Linked DNA regions of Homo sapiens: region 2 is linked to region 1. The links are contacts of gene promoters, found by promoter capture Hi-C in blood cells and fetal thymus (Javierre and others, 2016). All regions are on one chromosome and are shown on one strand. The core of a region is centred on a gene start or on the middle of the fragment in contact, and the rest is flanking DNA. Distances in the headings are between cores, read along the strand shown. Region 1 holds the start of PSMD11 (proteasome 26S subunit, non-ATPase 11). Region 2 overlaps MYO1D (myosin ID).

What was found. Contacts are between HindIII fragments. The CHiCAGO score rates a contact against its expected background, and 5 or more counts as called.
Region 2: a contact is called between a fragment that was not itself captured here and the fragment with the promoter of PSMD11 in region 1, in 15 of 17 cell types (naive CD4 T cells, total CD8 T cells, fetal thymus and 12 more). The highest score is 13.3, in naive CD4 T cells.

The regions. Positions count from the first base shown.
Region 1 is chr17:32,443,244-32,445,943 of GRCh38, forward strand. It overlaps PSMD11 (proteasome 26S subunit, non-ATPase 11), which reads left to right and starts at 1,267. Exons shown (of 14, transcript NM_002815.4): 1 at 1,267-1,371. The coding sequence starts at 1,281. RefSeq lists a silencer at 987-1,156 and enhancers at 1,048-1,663, 1,277-1,356. The HindIII fragment of the contact is 4,191 bases long and covers 1-2,700 here.
Region 2 is chr17:32,756,133-32,758,832 of GRCh38, forward strand. All of the region lies in intron 10 of MYO1D (myosin ID), which reads right to left. Among named protein-coding and RNA genes, the nearest start is that of MYO1D-DT, 120 kb to the right of the region's middle. The HindIII fragment of the contact is 1,200 bases long and covers 653-1,852 here.

The DNA.
Region 1 (2,700 bases), core at 17-2,516:
AAGCCATTTAATCCAACTCTCCATCAAAGTCATGAATCCTGTTTACAACAACCTGATGAGATGTCAACTACTTTTCACGTGAACACACCCAGGAATTAGGAAGGCATTCCCTAACCGGCAGCTCTTATCTCTCCCAATCACGATTTGAGCTTCACCAAATAACTCAAACCCCTGTTTCCTCACATATTAAAGGGGAGTAAATATCTGCTTTACAGAACATTGTTGGGAGAATAAAAGGAGATAGAGGAATATAAATGGCCTAATCCACTTACAGAGGAGGGTGTGCAATGTTAGTCCCCTTTTTGCCTCCTTTTATGGGACAGCACATTCCATTTTTGGATCGTCATCACCTAGAGAAAGGTCTTCCTTAATACTGAATTGTCTTTGTATCCTTTTAGCACCTTTCTTAAGTTTAACCCTAAGTGGTCTCATAGAATGTCATTTTTCCGTCCACACGACGTCTTCACTGATATCTGTGACTTTAGTTGAAGGGGCTGAAGATATTGGGAAGAATAATTCAATTTTTTCCTTCCTCCGTCCCTCCCTCCCTCCCTTCCTTCCTTCCTTTTTTTTTTTTTTTCTTTGAGCTGGGGAGCTGGGTGAGGCTTCTGTGGATTCCCAAGAGGTATTTGTGGCGTGAATGGAGCAAAGGTGATGTTTCACTTCATCACGTCCAGCACTGTCCCAAGGTTAAATGGGCGCGTGAGGACAGTTTTCTCCGGTCCTGGCGGGTTTGCCCACCTGCCGGCCAGCGTTCTGCGGGAGTCAAGCCTGGAAAGCGTGTGTGCGGCGCACAGGCGTCAGACACTGGAACGCATTCGAATGGTGCTATTCTTTGCCACATAGCGAGCACTTTATAAGGTCACTTATCGTCCCGAATGAATGGTTAAATCGTGGAAGCCGCAAAGAAAGCCACGCAGCTTTGACTCAATACCTAGCCCAGTACTCAGGAACCCCTCTCAGGGGTGCGCGAGCGGGGCCGGAATCAAGAAGCCTCTTTTGGGGTGGGCGGGGACCGATCTAGAGCTCCCACTGCGGGGCACCGCCTCTTTTCCTCGCCGGCCGCCCGCTAGGAGGCGCTGGGGAGCTTGCAGCCCACCTGCGAGGCGGTCCCGCTCTCCCCACCCCTCAGCCCGCGCCCGGCGGAGAGACTACAACTCCCGGAGTGCTCTGGGAACGGAGCCACGGGAGCTACAGGCGGAGGGACCCGAGGGCGGGCTTTCCGGGTGTGTGTTTCCGGCGTCGGCGGCCGCGGCCGGGGACGGTGTGAGAGCGGTAAGATGGCGGCGGCGGCGGTGGTGGAGTTCCAGAGAGCCCAGTCTCTACTCAGCACCGACCGGGAGGCCTCCATCGACATCCTCCACTCCATCGGTAAAGGTCGCCGCGCCGCCTCCCCGGCCCCGCCGGCCCAGCTCGGCTTATGTCGGTCGGCGGCAGCGGAGAGGGGCCCGGCTAGCCGGCTCTGATGCTGCTGACTCACTGTGTGAGGGGGGCCGGGCCGGGGGCGCAGGCCGCTCGGAGCTCCCCAGAGCCTCCCAGGTCTCACTCTTGTGGGAGGGCTTGAGGCAATCCCCGGGTCCCCTCGCCGGCTGCTGACTCACGGGGGGCTCAGCGTAGGGTGGGAGAGTGGGCCGAGCCGGGCCCCCGGGGATCCCTCCCTAGCCATGTCCCCGGCTCTGGCCCGCACGAGCTGGTCTGGGACCCGGAGCAGTGCCGGCCGGCGTGCTTGTCACGGACTGGTCCTAGAGTCTCTACTTGAAAGGCCTTGGCGAAACCAGCTCTGGACAGGCATTTCCCGCCGTTGTAATCAGCACAGCCTGCTCCGGGTGGGAGCGCGAGCGCTTGCTCTTCTCTGGGAGTTTCCTTCCACGGGACGCTGGGAGCTGCTACTCCTCAGCCCCACGGCAGAAAGCTCCACTAAGAGGAGGGTCTCTTTCAGAATGTGGGAAATTCAGGGGTGACACACACCTCAGATTGGCATTTGGTTTGTGGAGGTGGCCGAGACGCTCATCTGCTCTGTGTAGGGTGTAAGAGTGAGGTGTTGGAGCGGGACCGCCTGGCTAGAGGAGGTGACTAATCTTTCCAGACTGCCTGTAGGGGTTGGAAGTGAGTTAAGGGAGTTAGTTGTCAGCCGCGGAGTTCAGGGAATTCTTTGGAACGGGTCGGCTGCATGTTGCCGGAAAAATTAAAATTTCTTAACGCTGTAATAACGATGGTCTTACACCTACACACAACAGGAAAACTGAAATGGGAATCCCAGCCAGTCGCTTCCGGCAGCTTTCTGTTGGGATTCAAGTGTGAACAGAAATTTATTACGACAGAAGAAGACGTTAATGTTCACTCATAAAGGATTCAATTAGGGCTTGGACTAGCTCTTCACTGCACATGTAATGGCATCTTTGTAGTGTAGTTTGGGAAGATCTGAATTGGCTCAACAAGTAGTATGAGAATGCACCTGTATGTGGGACTTGCAAGATGTTGGCATTTGACTTAGTGTGTTGAATTTTGGTATTCCAGACCTGCACGGAGAAAGGACAATGACAAGATCTTGATACTTTATCATTGGGGATACTAGAGAAGGAGAGGAAGTGGGCGTCAAGGTGTATCTTTGAATGATATTGGTAAAAGGTGTTTCATTTTAAAAGTTCTGATCTTAGGTCAGTTACTTCTACGGAACCAGAGTCATCTCAATCACCGTTA
Region 2 (2,700 bases), core at 3-2,502, 310 kb after region 1:
AATGTTTAGTTCTAGAAATTTTGTGCAATATGTTCATAACGATGGCTGCAGTTGCCACAAAGTGCCTCGTTTACCTTTAAATACTGTTAATGTGTCACGCATGCAGATGGAAGGGGTGGAACTGTGCACTAAAGTGGGGGCTTTAACTGTAGTGTTTGGCAGAGTTGCCTTCTACCTGCCAGTTCAAAAGTTCTGTTTTCATGCAGAATATATATACTAAAAAATTTCAGTCTTTTAAACAGCCTTACTCTGATTCAGCCTCTTCAGATACTCTTGTGCTGTGCAGTAGTGGCTCTATGTGTAAATGCCATGCACTGAGGGTACACAAAAATATCAACATTATGTGTACAGGATAATGCCTCATCCCAATCAGATGTCCATTTGTCATTGTGTTTGTTAACAACCCTTTATCTCTTAGTGTTAAATAAACTCCACTTAAAACGGAAAAAAAAAAAAAAGAACTTGCATTTTTAGTTACATGACCCTGAATGACTAAAATCCAAAAGAGCATTTCTTTTGGTTTCCCCAAAGTTAAAAAGCTTCAATAGAATTTTGAACAATTTGAAAAAATTCAGTAGAATTTTTACATTTTTCTAGGCATAATATAAAGAATTTAATTCTGAGAAATAAATATCTATAAAAGATAAGAAAAAGCTTTTCCTTTACTTCCACAAGGTGAATGAAGTTATAAATAACTTCTGGCTTTTCAGCAACTATACATGTACAAGGTTTGTCCAACAATCCTCTGCCACACCTGTTTATTCTGACAGCCTGCAATGTACCTATCACTACACACAGAAGGCACACAAAGAAAGGCCAACTCAGGCAAGCTGCACATCTCAAAGAGGGGCAGCTTATGATCACACAGTTTAATCTTGCTATGTCCCATCTTACGCAGGAGTTACCTAAACTGATTGCTGTCTCCATTACCTTCTATAAGGTCTATATACTCATAATAGACCATTCAAGTGACTCATGTATTCCCATTTCATGCTTTAAAATCCAAGGTTTTATGCCAGTTATTTGTACATGGCTTTTAGCTCCATTTCTAGTCTTGCATGTTCTCTTCTGTATCTTATGGACTGAAACCTGTAAACTGGGTAGTTTTTACTTTGTTTTTTATACTTTTCTGATCTGTCTAAACTAAAGTTTCTCAAATAGGGGAATAGGGGGAATTTTGCTCACCAGGGGACATTTGGCAATATCAGGAGACATTTCTAGTCAAAATGGGGTAGGGGTGCTACTGTCATTTGGTGGGTAGAGGCCAGGGGTGCTGCTAAACATCCTACAATGCATAGAACAGCCTCCACAACAAAGAACTATCTGGCACAAAATCTCAGTAGTACTGAGGTGAAGCAGTGTAGGTCTAAATATTTACTTTCATTATGGGCATTTATTACATTTCTAATTAGGGAGAAAAGTTATTTCCATCTTTGGAAAAAAAATCCTAAAAATACTCAAAAAGCAGGAGCTCTATATTAATAGTTGACATCTTAGACTTCGGGACTGTGAAATTAAAGACGAAGTCTTTTGTCCCAGGGACTAAAGAATTACCTTCCCTAAAATCCCAATTATATTATTAAAAGCTATTGGTCTCTGCTAGTAACTTTCAGTTTGTAAGTTTAATACTGCTTCAAACATTGCTTAAACCAGTAGTTTTCAAACTAAGTTCTTCCAGCAACTTGGCATTCCCGTAAGGTTTCCTAAGGGATACCAGGAGCCAGAAGACTTGTGATGGGGTAGCTTAGGGACATGGGGCTCTGGCCTTTCATACCCACTCCAGATAAAACAGCTTTGTGCTTGAGTATCAAGTTCTCAATAGTTAAAATGATTTGCAAACTACAGCATCGAAAGCTTTTAAAAGTGAATGTACCAGATAACCAGACATTATGAACCTCCTGGTGGAAGTTCACACACAGTCTATGAAATGGGCTGTGGAAAAAAACTGACTCTGAATCCAGTCAAGACTCTAGATCTAACAACCAATATACAGGACATACAAGAAACAGAGAAACATATTAAATGGCACCTGAGGAATGCAATTAGCAAAATCCAGACTGTGGGGAACTCCATAACAAATGACTCATTCTCTTCAACACAAGATTGCAAAGAGAGATCATTCAAGGAAAAAAAGAAACATGGAGAAAATCTATAGATATGCAAGAGACCTATCAATCAATCATAATGTAAGAAACTTATTTGGATCCAAATTTAACCTGCAAAACAACAACCAGAAGACAATTAAGGAAATATGAAACATGTATACTGACTGGATATTTTATGATATTAAGGAATTTTTGTTAATGTTTTAGGTATGATAATGGCATTGTGATTATGGTTTTTGTAAAACTCTCTTAGAGAAATACATGGAAATATTTACTGAATAGATACCCAATTGAATAGATGAAATAATGTGATATCTGAAATTTGCTTCAAAATAATCTGGGAGTAGGTGGGTATAGTACAGATGGCATAAGACTGGCAATCAACTGGTACGTGTTAAAGCCAGGTGATGGGTATATAGGGTTTACTGTACTATAGTCTGTCTTCTTAATGTGTGTTTAAAATTTTCCATAATAAAAAATCTTTTAAAAAGAATCACTATGTTTAGAAGTTTGGGGTTTTACCCAGAATAGAGATTCTAATTGTGGGGGGATCTGCCATGTAGTAAGTAACTGTTACCTTGGAGTTAGCCTTCTG